5 separate regions of the Homo sapiens genome follow, and regions 1, 2, 3 and 4 are each linked to region 5. The links are contacts of gene promoters, found by promoter capture Hi-C in blood cells and fetal thymus (Javierre and others, 2016). All regions are on one chromosome and are shown on one strand. Each heading gives the region's core, a stretch centred on a gene start or on the middle of the fragment in contact. The rest is flanking DNA. Distances are from core to core; before and after follow the strand shown. Region 1 has its middle 29 kb from the start of VEPH1. Region 2 holds the start of CCNL1 (cyclin L1). Region 3 holds the start of LINC00886 (long intergenic non-protein coding RNA 886). Region 4 overlaps LOC101928236 (a long non-coding RNA gene). Region 5 holds the start of GFM1 (G elongation factor mitochondrial 1).

What was found. The method cuts DNA at HindIII sites, captures the fragments that hold promoters and counts their contacts. A CHiCAGO score of 5 or more calls a contact.
Region 1: a fragment that was not itself captured here is called in contact with the fragment with the promoter of GFM1 in region 5 in 1 of 17 cell types (endothelial precursors); the score reaches 5.1 in endothelial precursors.
Region 2: a contact is called between the fragment with the promoter of CCNL1 here and the fragment with the promoter of GFM1 in region 5, in 4 of 17 cell types (total CD8 T cells, activated CD4 T cells, total B cells and 1 more). The highest score is 8.3, in total CD8 T cells.
Region 3: a fragment that was not itself captured here is called in contact with the fragment with the promoter of GFM1 in region 5 in 1 of 17 cell types (total CD8 T cells); the score reaches 5.0 in total CD8 T cells.
Region 4: a fragment that was not itself captured here is called in contact with the fragment with the promoter of GFM1 in region 5 in 5 of 17 cell types (activated CD4 T cells, total CD8 T cells, naive CD4 T cells and 2 more); the score reaches 7.8 in activated CD4 T cells.

Annotation. Positions count from the first base shown.
Region 1 is chr3:157,530,608-157,533,307 of GRCh38, forward strand. No RefSeq gene overlaps it. Among named protein-coding and RNA genes, the nearest start is that of VEPH1, 29 kb to the left of the region's middle. The HindIII fragment of the contact is 894 bases long and covers 889-1,782 here.
Region 2 is chr3:157,158,843-157,161,620 of GRCh38, forward strand. CCNL1 (cyclin L1) reads right to left here and starts at 1,305. Exons shown (of 11, transcript NM_020307.4): 1 at 950-1,305; 2 at 563-637; 3 at 24-133. The coding sequence starts at 1,252. RefSeq lists enhancers at 517-586, 1,220-1,949, 2,037-2,086, 2,107-2,166 and a silencer at 727-936. The HindIII fragment of the contact is 11,903 bases long and covers 1-2,778 here.
Region 3 is chr3:156,816,044-156,818,743 of GRCh38, forward strand. LINC00886 (long intergenic non-protein coding RNA 886) reads right to left here and starts at 1,019. Exons shown (of 3, transcript NR_038387.1): 1 at 844-1,019. RefSeq lists silencers at 473-802, 823-1,032 and an enhancer at 917-2,116. The HindIII fragment of the contact is 164 bases long and covers 1,348-1,511 here.
Region 4 is chr3:157,177,493-157,180,192 of GRCh38, forward strand. The region is part of intron 2 of LOC101928236 (a long non-coding RNA gene); the gene reads left to right. Among named protein-coding and RNA genes, the nearest start is that of CCNL1, 19 kb to the left of the region's middle. RefSeq lists an enhancer at 391-892. The HindIII fragment of the contact is 2,080 bases long and covers 295-2,374 here.
Region 5 is chr3:158,643,189-158,645,914 of GRCh38, forward strand. It overlaps GFM1 (G elongation factor mitochondrial 1), which reads left to right and starts at 1,339. Exons shown (of 18, transcript NM_024996.7): 1 at 1,339-1,527; 2 at 2,441-2,593. The coding sequence starts at 1,447. The HindIII fragment of the contact is 2,960 bases long and covers 1-1,936 here.

The sequences.
Region 1 (2,700 bases), core at 86-2,585, 1.1 Mb before region 5:
GATCCAGAGAAGAGTGCTGGGTCAGCCTTGGCAGAAAGGAAGGCCTAACCCACTGTGGCATGCAAAAAAATGTCTTAGAGTAACAACAAAAATCAGTCTGTTGTGGACAAACGAGAGCCAAGAAAACTACCCTAGATCTTCTAAAATACAGGATGGAATATGATTTCCTAGGAGTGGGAAGTGGTAGCATCCGGCTGAGAACCTAGGGGTGGAGGAATAGGTCTGAGTCAGACACCATGGAGAATGTGATGAGATAAAAAGAAAAAAAATGAAACAAGATTTGAATCAAGTCTTGAGGTCTCAAATCAGAGTTTGAGAGCATAAATACATGGTGGACTCTGACAGCACCATCTGGTGATTTCTCCCTGCAAGCAAAGGTCTCACTTCTCAGCCCAGATCCAGAAAAGACAAAACAGAAAATGTGAGTGACCCAGAGGTGTGAACTGGCTAGGTGGGAGTTGCAGAGAGCTTCTGAGGAGAGGGTGGTAGAGTGCTGGATAGAGTACTGTGGGGAGCATAAATGAACGACCCAGGCCGAGGAGCCTGCCAAGGGAGGCAAGAAGCACAGGGTGGCTACAGGGAATGTCACGGATGCCCAACCTCAGTTATTACAGTCATTAAACTGGTTTTGTTTCATTTCATAACATTCACTAGAATGAATTAATTTCCAGAGCTTATTGGGCTGTCATTTTGTGATATAAGAAAACAAAAGAAACTTACTCATTACAGTGACTAAAGAGAAGGGAGGTAACTTCCAACTGTTAGTTAGTTGAAATGGAATTCCCTATCTGATAACTATTTCACAAAAGTAGCATTTCAAACCCAGCTTGTGGAGCTCTCCATTGAATGAGAAATGGGGCAGAACCATCTGTCAGCACATCTTCTTGAAGCTTCCTTCTAAAGGAGAGCCCTTCAGGCTGGGTGTGCGGCCCTCACACCCAAGGCACACTGCTGACCTCCTTCCCTGATAGCCGCTCTTCCACTTAGTCATACCAGTGCTTCCTGACGTTTAAAATACCTGAATTTTTGGTAGCACATTTGAGGAAATTAAAAGGCAAACACTTTTTTAAAAAAATAAAAGCAAATTTCAGAAAACTTTCTATAATTATCCTGTTATTTTTTCGTTTGCCCATTGACACCATGTAGCTGCTTGAGTGGAAATGTTTACTGGCCCAATAAAGTTCTCCTGTGCCCTCTTGGGAGTAGAGCTCTTCTGGGTTTCAGTAAACCTGGGCTCTTTCTGTGGCCCTGATTTCCTTTCCCATTTCTACCTTTGCCTATCGCAGCAAGTTGACCCCTGCCCCACACCACCCACCCAAACAGCCTTGCTCCGCCAAGTACCCAGCCCCTCACTGACCTCACCTCAACTGTGTAAAAACAAATTAGTCACACTGATCCAAATGTGTCTGGATGGATTGCCCCCCCACACATAGAATATGAGTCGAGGGGGAACTTGTTTTCCATCTCTGGAGCAGCCTTATAGAAAGGCTTAAAAATCTTCAGCCTCACAACTTTCACAGAGCCACAGAGCTTTCCTCTGTAGTCGGTGATTGTCTGTATCTGGAAGCCATTTTTAAAAATAGAAAAGGAAATGTCTTTCACTGTTTTAAAATGCACACACTGGCAGGTAGTAGTGATAGCTATTTCAGTACCGCAGACACCACACTGAAAACACTTTCTATACTTTACCTCATTTACTCCTCACAGCAACCTTTACCTACAACAACAGCCAGCATCTAAAAAGGCACTGTTACTATTCTGTTTTTCACATGGGATGACTGAAGCTTAGAGAACAGTAAAATGACGCCCTAAAGTCACACAGCTACTAACAGAGCCATGATTTGCACCCAGCCAGGCTGAGCTCAGAGACAGCACTCTGAAATGCCTAATTCAGTGGCTATTTCATTTATACTCATTATTAATGATTGAAGTTTTCTAGAACCTAAGACTGCGAGCTTACCTAACCCAGGTTCTCCTTTCCACCTGGCTACACTCATTTCCTTATTTGATACAATGCCTTCTTCCTTATATGGTTCTTTACGAAGTGTAGTCAACAGGCTTTTAATTCATTGCTTCCTGCCTCTTTAGTCCTCTCCCACCTTCAATTCTTTCCCAAGATCTCGGCCACAATACTGTTTCCTCTCTACTGTTTTTTACTCACATCTTCCACAAGGGGGCACATTCTGACCATAAAGCTTTGAGGCTCTCCAGTCAGCTAAAATACAACCAGCGTCACCCTAATGCTTTCATTCTGTTACAAGAAATGCCTTTATTCAAGCTACATTCCTCATTGTTATTTCACGTAGGGGAAACAACAGTAAAAAAGGAAACCATATAATTTTTGTAGACTGTTTGACCATAATTCATTCACTGGATTTCTATGTTAGGTATGGAATCCATTAAGCAGGATATTGAAGCTTATGAATGGAAACCTAGTAATTCCTCTTTAATAAACATGAGTTACTTTTATTTCTTAAACTTTATTAGGCATTTACTCAAAACATTACTCAGAAATGTTTGTTAATAATATGAATGATGATTTTGATTCCGTTTGCGTTGTTACTATGTCTAAGGGTCCAAAACACAAAGTCTGGATTATTCATAAAGACTGAGAAAATGGCTGGCATTTGAATGTAAATCTTAGTGCTTGAGCCTAACTCCATCTTGACACTTCTCACCAACCCTAAGGAAGGAGTGGCT
Region 2 (2,778 bases), core at 55-2,554, 1.5 Mb before region 5:
ATGTTCAATAATGCCAATCTTACCTTTTTCCTCTTAACTGGCGGAGGTGGTGGAATACATTAATCACATCTCTTATTCTTCTAGGTGCTTCTTCGATTTTTGATGCAAGATTAATACAAGCCATAGCAACAATCTGAAAGAACCCATGAGCCACAAAAGCCATTGTTAGATTAAACTCACTTTGAAGAATAAAATTTAGAACACAATTGGGACAACCTTTAGTAAAATTAGAGAAGACATCTCTATGCCGTAAGTCTACCAGCTATGCTAGTACTATACTTTTTGTTGTTTAACTCATCTTAATTTTGGTTCCAGAGTCAAACTCAATCTTACAGGAGTTCTGCATTTGGTTGAAAACTGTACTTTTCGTTAAGAGGGCACTTAGGCTCGTGATCGATTTTGAACCACATTCTAAAGGTTTCCACTTCCTGGCGAGTGAGAAGTAGGTACAAAGGCCTAAACTAAACCACTCCCTTTCTGGAAAAGCTGGCTGCTGACACTACCCCTACTCTGCCCATTTCCGGATGAAGAAATCCCTTTTACCCGCCTCCGCTGTGCTTACCTCGAAACTGTGTTTGACGAAAGATTTGGAGTAGAAAAAACGATGAAACAACACCTGCCCCGTTGCCATCGCCACCTGCAGACAAGAGAGGAGAACGGAAGCGCAGGGGTCAGGCGGGCCCGCTCCAGGCGCCGCCGCCATTTTGTGCCGCCGATCGCTTCCCTTTCCCCTCCCGCCGCCGCCGCCGCTGCGAACAGCCCGCTGCCAAGTCCTCCCTCCGCCTCCGCAGCCCCCCGCCCCGGCACGCCCCGGCCGCGGCTGGGCCCCGAACGGGAAAGCCTGAAGGAACCGTCCCCACCCTCCCGGGGCACGGTGATACTGAGATGCGGCGTAGGGGACGGAGGAGAGGAGAGGAGCGCCCGGCCGGCCCGGGGCCGGAGCACTGACCTGCGGCAGCCGGAGGAGAATGCCGGCGGCCTGGATGAGCTCGCAGCCCAGGATGCGTAAGTCCGTCTCACTGGGCAGGTCGAGCCCATCCTGCATGGATGGGGTGGGCGAGAGCCTCTCCTCCGGAATCAGAGAGTGGTCGATGGTAAGTGAAACTTCCGAGTACAGGCGATCGCCGATCAGGATCCCTCCCGTCGTGGTCGTCGTCGTGGTCGTCGTCCCGGAGCTGGAGCCGCCCGCGCTTGGGGCGGCCGATGAGGCGGCTGCGGCAGCAGTAGCTGTCGAATGAGGCCCGGACGCCATAGTCTTAGCGAGCCGCACGCAAGCCCAACGCAGCCGGAACCCGAAACAAGACTAACCAGCGTTCTCGGCGCGACGGATATTCCCGTGACCGCCGGGTTCTGGGCCGCTTCACGCCGCGTGCGCTTCCGCCCTGACGTCACCACGCCGGGCAGCCGCGCGCCAACTAGTCCCTCCAGGCCGCGCCTCCGCCCTCGGCATCTGGGCCTGCGAGGGGAGTGTTGGGTGCTGCGACAGACCTTGGGATCCTCAGAGGCTGAGGAGGCCTTCTCTAGCCAAGGCCGGTCGAAACCACCTTGTTTGTGATAGCCACACGAATAACGGAGCTTTACAAGATCCCTTATACCCAAAATAGAGGTGGCAGCATTGGCTAGCATCTCTGCGCCCCTTCGCCCTGCATTCCGGCCTCTTCCTTTAGCCTCGGCGCGGCTTGCGTTCCGCGTGTACCAAGGGAAGTGGCGGCCGACCTGAGCGCGCTTTGGCGGGTGGAAGTGGTGACTTTGTTGTCCTGTGTGGACGAATGTGTAATATAAAGTGACCCTCAAGGAATCTGGAGAGGGCTGCTTTACAGTATTTGAAGAACACAGGGCTGTGGACCCTATCGGTTCCCAAATGAAAGCTCCCCGGGGAGCGTGTTTTTGCCAGTATGGGGAAGTAGGGCGGAGGCATAGGAATGACCGCGAGAGTGGCTGCTTTCATAGCTCCGCTTGCGAAACTCCTGCCCGGCCTTTGACACCGCCACGGCTTTCAGTAATCTGGAAAATCCCTAGTTTCCAAAAATAGTCTTAGGGCGAGGACTTGACAGAGGTAATTTGATTATGCCTGGGAGTCTCTATTCATACATGGTTACCTACCGCGGGTAGGGTGAGGTCAACCTCGTGTTTTTTGTTTTTTTTCCTGTGATATTAGCTAGCAATTTCCAGCGTTTCCTGAACCTTGAAGTAAAAACAATGATACTGATCTAAACTACTAGAATCTAGGTTGGAAGGAAAGGAATGCATCACGTTTTACTCTTGACGCTCAGAAAGCGATACCCCAAAGACAGAGGCTTTAGAAGCTGCCTCATAATGCAGGTCCCCCAACCTTGACTTGTTGCTCCCACTTTTCCCAAGTGCAGGGAGGTACTCTCTGAAATTTCCTTTCCTGACTAGAGAAGCCTCTTTGTAGAAGAATCAATCGCATTCCTCCCCTCGCTGAAATCTCGTATCCTATTTCAAAAAGACTCAGAAATGCAGCCATTCCTGGAGGGACTTTTTCACAAGATTACTCAAAAGAAAATTATTTACTAATTTCTGTCCATTCATTGTTCCTAATAATCATTTGCTGCTCCTCAAAATAAATGTCTACATTTCTCATCTACCCTTTCCCCTATGAAAAAAAGATATAAAATCTTCTGTACTCCATTAAGCTACTGGGTAATCATCCTCCTGCTTTTACCCCGGTGTTATGTATCCCTTTTCTCCTGTTAATCGCCTGTTATCAGTTGATTTTTTTTTTCTTTTTTTTTAGATAGAGTCTCACTCTGTCGC
Region 3 (2,700 bases), core at 180-2,679, 1.8 Mb before region 5:
GTTCTGACGCCCCCACCGGCGACCACCTGGAAGGGGCTGATCCACCCCCACCTCCCTCTGCGAAGCGCGGAGCGGCTGCGGCCACCCGGCCAGAGCCAGCGCTGAGCTGCGCTGCGCTGCGTGACTGGCTGCATTTCTCAGCCCCGACGGCTGTGGTTACTCAAACTGATCTCATCGCAGGTCGTCACGACACGCGCTTCCCCTCGCCTGCACGCGGCGTGGCGTGAGAGGGGCCCTGGCAGCCGGCGCGCCCACCCCTGATCCTTCGAGGCCCACGATGAAGCCCATCCTACTTGCAATAACGGCCCCGTTCTCATTCTTCAAAAGACGGCTCCCAGACGTCAACAAAGAATCTAACCTACACAGCGCCGGCCCTCGCTCCTTTCAGCCTCAGCGAGCGCTGCCCTTCATTACCCCCCAGCGCACTTCTGGACACTGCGCCGGGTCGCCGGGGTCAGCCGCCCGGCCACGAAAGTCGCCCCCAGCGTGCCCCAGGCGTCAGTGCACGCCGGGCTCCCGGCTCCAGGCAGGCGGGGTGAGGCAGCTCCGCGAAGGCCACTCGCTGGCGACCCCTTCCCGGGTCTCCTAGCCCTGGCCGGGCTGCCCCCGCGCCCGCCCCCGCCCTCGAAATCCAGGCAGTGCGGGAGGCCGCCTTGCTGCTCTCTCCGCCCGCACAGGGCCGCCCGACGGAGCGGGCAGGGAGCAGGCGCCAAGGAGGCCGAGAGGGGCCCAGGGGCGAGGTCGACTCTCAGCCCGCTGTCCCCTTATCCCACGTTTCGCAGCCTGAGGTGTTTGTTGTATATCGGGAACTGACACTTTTCGGCGTTAAAATGAGGGCGTCACCTGCTCGAACTAAAGTCGGTGGAGGGCGTCTGGAGCCGGGCGGAATCTGGGATGCCTCGCCGGATTACGCGGCGGGGTCGGCACGCGAGGCAGGCTCCGGGCGCACCAGGAAGCCCGAGCGTGCACTAAAGCGGCGGAAGCAGGCAGCGGGGGCGGGGCCGGCGGGCTGCAGGCACGCAGGCGGCGCGGCGGCCTGGGGTTGCGTGACCTGCCGGGCTGCGGTCGCACGCACTTCGTGCTTCAGGCGGCCGTCGCCGGGCGGGAGGTGCAGGTGCTGGAGGGCGGCGCCCGGCTTCTACTTTCAAAACACCGCCGGGGAGGGCAGTCACGCTATATTTCTGGGACAGGGAGTGAGTTCACCGGGGGAGGACACAGCGTCCCCTTGTTATCACAACGTGGGTAACATTCGGTAATAAAACGCGCTCGGACAGGATGTATTAAACGAATTGGGAACCGGAGCTGCTCTTTCCATAAGCAATCAAGCTGGGGAAACTTTACAAGGAAAGCTTTAAATTGCGATGCATGGCGCAGGAGTGTGGTTCGTGTGACATGCTTACAGAGAAAGGAACCAGAGCAAGGACGGTGGCTTTGGGACGAAATTTCTGTCCGCTCTGCACAAAGACTAATTACAGAGTCGTGATTTGGGGCATGCTCTCATTCCTCCCGGAAGCTTTCTTTGCAGTGTTTTATTTTAAAATCAGAGGTGGTTGATCTCCCTGGCATACGAACATGAGAGACCTCATTTATATGGTGACTCAAAAGCCCCAAGGACATAAAAAAGGTGCCACGTTTTAAGACACCAGAATCTAAGTTCCTTCTCAAGATCATGTGAGCAAAAAGTGTTTTGCCCGCACAGATATCTATTTACATAATTAAAATGTTTGTAGATTTGCAGATAAATCAAGTTTAGAGGACAAAACAAAAAATGTTACCACGATAGTTTTTAACACAAGAGCACCCCAGTCAACTGAAAGCTTGGGAAATTCCACATTAGTTTATTTTCTATGTACTTAAACTTTGATTTGGTGAATCTATGCTCTCTTATTTCCCTATTATGACTCTTAGGCCTATAGTGCCTAGTTACACACACATTTGTTTTTGTGATACATGTAACATTATAGGAAAGGGGGGATTCTCTAGGGTTAGAATAGACACAATAAACTCCTAGGAAGCTTTCTCAAAAATACATATTCTCATCTCAGCTTACCATATGTGGGAAAAGGCAGCAAGATTCACTGTTTAATTTTAAAATGTTCTACCAGCTGACTGATTCTCACGTGGGATTTTTTTTTTTTTTCCTGGTCTGCCCAGCACGCTTAATTTCTTCTGGGACAGAACTGCCTACCCTTCCTGCCTGGATTGTGCTTCTGCCTTTACTCTTCTAGAATGTAGTTAGAAAGGGAGGTGTCATTGTGTGTGGCCTTGCCTACTTGGTCCCCACACTTGGTCGAGAGGCATATACCTGACTCAAGGTAAGCCAATGACAAACAGCACTTGACTCCTCCTGGCCTTAGTAATTTGGTTAAAGAGATTGCATATCATCCAAGTTGTGCCAAAGAAAGTCATTTCCTGGCAATTTTCTAACAGGAGGGTGGGCATAGATGCCTTCTCCCCAGTTCCTTTTGGTGACAAAATTGGACCGTCAGCCACCACTGCTCTGCCATGTGCAGAGACTGCCAACAATAAAAGAAAATGGAACCAACTTTCATTAAGTGGTAGATTCTAAGGGCTGAGCCTTTTTATGGCTTTTGCAAATTCCACATTGCATATCTGAGGTTCTCAAAGCAATACTGGCTCCTGCTTTCCTGAAACTTGATTGTTTACCTCTTCTGATTCTATGAGAAGAGATATGTATTT
Region 4 (2,700 bases), core at 85-2,584, 1.5 Mb before region 5:
ATTCCATAATTTAAAAATAATTGTTCACTTTAGTGACATTTTGTAGTTGGATAGTGGAGACAAAAGATGATACTCTCTGTGATCTTCAATCTAAACATTTATGTTAGGACAAATTATTCCCATATCTGTATAATGCTATATTTCTTCCCTGACCTCTACAAATCACAGAAGCACCGTTATTCGATCTTGTTCTCTTTTTCAAAAAATTCTACCTTCCAAGGTGGTGGTTCTTTAAGTTTATAAGTGAACCATAAAGTAGTTGGAAACCTGGATCCCAGGATGGTAGAAACATGAAGCTTGTTTATTCCAAGGACAGTTTTATATATGTATAGGACTTTATTATCCTTACTATATACAGCATTTTAATGGGGAGGGGGAACCAGGAGCATTGTTGGGGGTTAATTTAATTTTTGTAGTTTTAAAATACAAACGAATGATTGTATCAGTCTTTTTTTTTTTGTATTTATTGATCATTCTTGGGTGTTTCTCAGAGAGGGGGTTGTGGCAGGGTCATAGGATAATAGTGGAGAGAAGGTCAGCAGATAAACACGTGAACAAAGGTCTCTGGTTTTCCTAGGCAGAGGTCCTTGTGGCCTTCCGCAGTGTTTGTGTCCCTGGGTACTTGAGATTAGGGAGTGGTGATGACTCTTAACGAGCATGCTGCCTTCAAGCATCTGTTTAACAAAGCACATCTTGCACCGCCCTTAATCCATTTAACCCTGAGTTGACACAGCACATGTTTCAGAGAGCACAGGGTTGGGGGTAAGGTTATAGATTAACAGTGTCCCAAGGCAGAAGAATTTTTCTTAGTACTGAACAAAATGGAGTCACCTATGTCTACTTCTTTCTACACAGACACAGTAAAAATCTCATCTCTCCTTCTTTTCCCTACATTTCCTCCTTTTCTTTTCGACAAAACCGCCATCGTCATCATGGCCCTTTCTTGATGGTCGCTGTCTCTTCAGAGCTGTTGGGTACACCTCACAGACGGGGTGGCTGGGCAAAGGTGCTCCTCACTTCCCAGACGGGGCGGCCGGACAGAGGCGCTCCTCACATCCCATACGGGGCGGCTGGGCAGAGACACTCCTCACTTCCCAGACGGGGCGGCCGGGCAGAGGCGCTCCTCACTTCCCAGACGGGGTGGCCGGGCAGAGGTGCTCCTCACTTCCCAGATGATGGGCGGCCGGGCAGAGGCGCTCCTCACCTCCCAGACGGGGCAGCAGGGCAGAGGCGCTCCTCACCTCACAGATGGGGCGGCTGGGCAGAGGTGCTCGCTTCCTAGATGGGGCGGCTGGGCAGAGGCGCTCCTCACCTCCCAGAAGAAGGGCGGCTGGGCAGAGGCGCTCCTCACATCCCAGATGATGGGTGGCCGGGCAGAGGCGCTCCTCACCTCCCAGACGGGGCGGCCAGGCAGAGGCGCTCCTCACATCCCAGATGATCGGCGGCCGGGCAGAGGCGCTCCTCACTTCCCAGATGATGGGCGGCCAGGCAGAGGTGCTCCTCACATCCCAGACGATGGGCGGCCGGGCAGAGGCGCTCCTCACTTCCCAGATGATGGGCAGCCGGGCAGAGGTGCTCCTCAGCTCCCAGATGGGGTGGCTGGGCAGAGACGCTCCTCACCTCCCAGACGAAGGGTGGCCGGGCAGAGGCACTCGCTTCCTAGATGGGGTGGCTGGGCAGAGACGCTCCTCACCTCCCAGACAAAGGGCGGCCGGGCAGAGGCGCTCGCTTCCTAGACGGGGCGGCTGGGCAGAGGCTCTCCTTACCTCCCAGACGATGGGCGGCTGGGCAGAGGCGCTCCTCACTTCCCAGATGATGGGCGGCCGGGCAGAGGTGCTCCTCAGCTCCCAGATGGGGTGGCTGGGCAGAGACGCTCCTCACCTCCCAGACGAAGGGTGGCCGGGCAGAGGCGCTCGCTTCCTAGATGGGGTGGCTGGGCAGAGACGCTCCTCACCTCCCAAAGGGCGGCCGGGCAGAGGCGCTCGCTTCCTAGACGGGGCGGCCGGGCAGAGGCGCTCCTCACCTCCCAGACGAAGGGCAGCCAGGCAGAGGTGCTCCTCACATCCCAGATGATGGGCGGCCAGGCAGAGGTGCTCCTCACCTCCCAGATGGGGAGGCCGGGCAGAGGCATTCCTCACATCCCAGATGATGGGCGGCCGGGCAGAGGCGCTCCTCACTTACGAGACGGGGCAGCCGGGCAGAAGCGCTCCTCATTTCCCAGACGGGGCAGCCGGGTAGAAGCGCTCCTCACTTCCCAGACGGGGTGTATCAGTCTTTAAAATCAGCAATAATGTTACACTGCTAGAACTTTAGAACATACAGACATGAAATAATATCCTCACCAGAAAAGTACTAACCAACTCTGTTACTGAGAAGCTTGAGAAAACATTTTAACAACATCTGCACTCAGGGATAAAATTTGAAATGAGAGTTCAAAGGACAAGATTTATTAACCTTATCTTTCTGTCTTACAATGAACACAGAAGCTCTCATAATTAAGCAATTTGAACAGAAAGATTAGCAAGGGATTGGTCTTTGTATGTTTAATTACTCTGAAGTTATAATGGAAAACCTCTCATGGGACAACATGTATTTACATGTTTGCAAATAATGCTTTGCTTTACATTATGTAGAAAATATTTTATTCCAGAGTATTGTGAACTTTCAAACATCTATTCTGTAGATGATTGAAATATTTTG
Region 5 (2,726 bases), core at 89-2,588:
GTTCCCTGTCTCTAGACCCTGTTCTCCTGCCTCACCCATAAAGGGAATTCCCTAGAGATACTAAAGGCTGTCTGTCTCTCTTCTGAGCAGCCCACTCTGCCTCTCAGAGTGTACTTTTGGTTTACAATAAACTTTTTTGCCTACTCTTACTTTGTACTTGCTTTCAAATTCTTTTGTGTGGTGAAGTCAAGCACCTGAACCGGCCCACTGACAACAGCAAGGATAGAAGCAGTGAGATCGGTTACAAGGCTATTACAATAGTTCCCTCCAGAAACGGCAGTACTGAGAGGTGGGGAGAAGTAAGTTCTGGATTTTCTTTTTTTTTTTTTTTTTTTGAGACTCGCTCTGTCACCCAGGGTGGAGTGCAGTGGCGTGATCTCGGCTCACTGCAAGCTCCGCCTCCTGGGTTCACACCATTCTCCTGCCTCAGCCTCCCGAGTAGCTGGGACTACAGGCGCCCGCCACCGCGCCCGGCTAATTTTTTTTTGTATTTTTAGTAGAGACGGGGTTTCACTGTGTTAGCCAGGATGGTCTCCATCTCATGACCTCGTGATCTGCCCGCCTCGGCCTTCCAAAGTGCTGGGACTACAGGTGTGAGCCACCGCGTCCGGCCCTGGATGTCTTTTTGAAAGTAGAGCTTACAGGATATGCTGACTGATTAGACCGGAGATGTCACAGCATGGTGTCAAAGCGACTAATATTTTTGGCTAGAATCACTAAAGTTTACATTTATGAGATGGATAAGACTGTGGAAGGTTTGGGGAAGAAGATCCGAAGCTCAGTTTTGGACCTGTTAGGTTCAACATGCCTCTTAACACATCCAAGCAGAATGGTCAAGGATGCAGTCTTCCACATGGACAGGACATGAAATGTCTGACATCGAACAATAACAAATAACATTTTGACATGAGGAAAAGTATTTGTAATTGTAATTGATAGTTCATTCACTATAATTTGTCCACGTTCTTTTTCAGGCCATGTCATATATATACCTATTAATATTTGTAATAGACAATTTTGCTCTTTTCTACTTAAATTGTTATATACATTTCTCCACATTGCTTTATAGGCCTAACAACCATGTTTAAATTCTGTATCTTCATACAGAGGTAATATTTAAAAAAGAAGACGAAGACAAAAGGACTCCCTTCCCTCACCCATATACCTATGCCGTCTTACTGGGAGCAAACACTTCTTTAGCTCCGCAAAGCGATTGCACTTTCTCTTCCAAGTCGGCAGACGGCGCGCGAGCAGCGTAGGCACTGCTCCGCCTCCAATCCAGTTGCTCTTCTTTCTTTTCCTCACTCTCTTTTTCCTCGCGTCCTTTGCCCCGGAAGTGCTCTTACAACATTGGCTGCCGGCGTGACTTTGACCGCTTCCCGGTGCGTTACCGGCAGCTGAACCCACCCGGCGCCACGGGACTTTGACGCGTGCTCTGCGCTTGCCATGAGACTCCTGGGAGCTGCAGCCGTCGCGGCTCTGGGGCGCGGAAGGGCCCCCGCCTCCCTAGGCTGGCAGAGGAAGCAGGTACCGGAGCATAGAGAGGCTAAATCGGGACCATTCCCGGAACCTTGTGATCCCTTCTGGGCAATGGAAGGCCGTGACACCCCCTGGGTCCTCATGACTGACAGCTCCGAATACTGGCAGTCGCTCGTCAGTGCTGAAAAGCACCTCGGTGCCTGCACATTAGCTCGTTAGCTCGTTTGTTTCGCTCTCTGGTATCCCTAGGGTTTAATCAACTAAAAGTGTCTGTCACTCAGATACTTTGATATTTTATCCACCTTTTCTAAGGTTTTTTTTTTTTTTTTTTGCCTCTCTTTTCCCGTGAATAATTGTGCATTTTGGATGTGCAGTCCTATAGGGAAAGGTTTATATTGTATCTTCATTCCATCTAATAGGGATCCCCATCCCCTGCCACCAGAGTAAAGTTAAAACAAGCTTCATGAATTGTTTTTGTTTGGAGGGAATTGGAAATCTTTGGGGGCTGTCTTGGAGCTACTAGCATCACTGCATAGAGCATATAAGTTCTCAAACATATTTGTCATCTGTGAACTACAATAAAGGAGAAAGGGAAAAAAATTAAGTTAAATTTAAGCTAAAATTTGTATTTTCTATTAAAGTATTTTTTGGAGCTGTCTTTGTGATTTTATCTGCCCCAGTGTGTATTTTCAAATCTGCAGTAAAAAGTGTCTCCCATTTTAATTAAATTTAACTTATTCATTAATTAATTTTAAAAGAATACGTCTTTACTGTCTTGTTTTGAAGTCTGTCCTCTGATTACAAGAGTTCCAGGCTTAAAGGTTTCCCCTGGTGCCTTTCTCAAGCTATCTCATATCCAGTGAGATTTCTTGGAGGAATAATGTCCACCATACTCCTTTTAATTGTCTGTTGTTCTCTCTTATAAAAGGTGCATAGAATTGAGCTCTCGTATTTTTTTCAGGTTAATTGGAAGGCCTGCCGATGGTCTTCATCAGGGGTGATTCCTAATGAAAAAATACGAAATATTGGAATCTCAGCTCACATTGATTCTGGGAAAACTACATTAACAGAACGAGTCCTTTACTACACTGGCAGAATTGCAAAGATGCATGAGGTATATATTCACGGTTGATTCCGGATTAATTAGAACCAGATTTTAATTGTTTTGTTGCTATTATTTAATAAAGCTTATAAACCTGAAAGATTAAAACAATGGTAACAGCGGACTTTTGACAGTTAGGCTTATC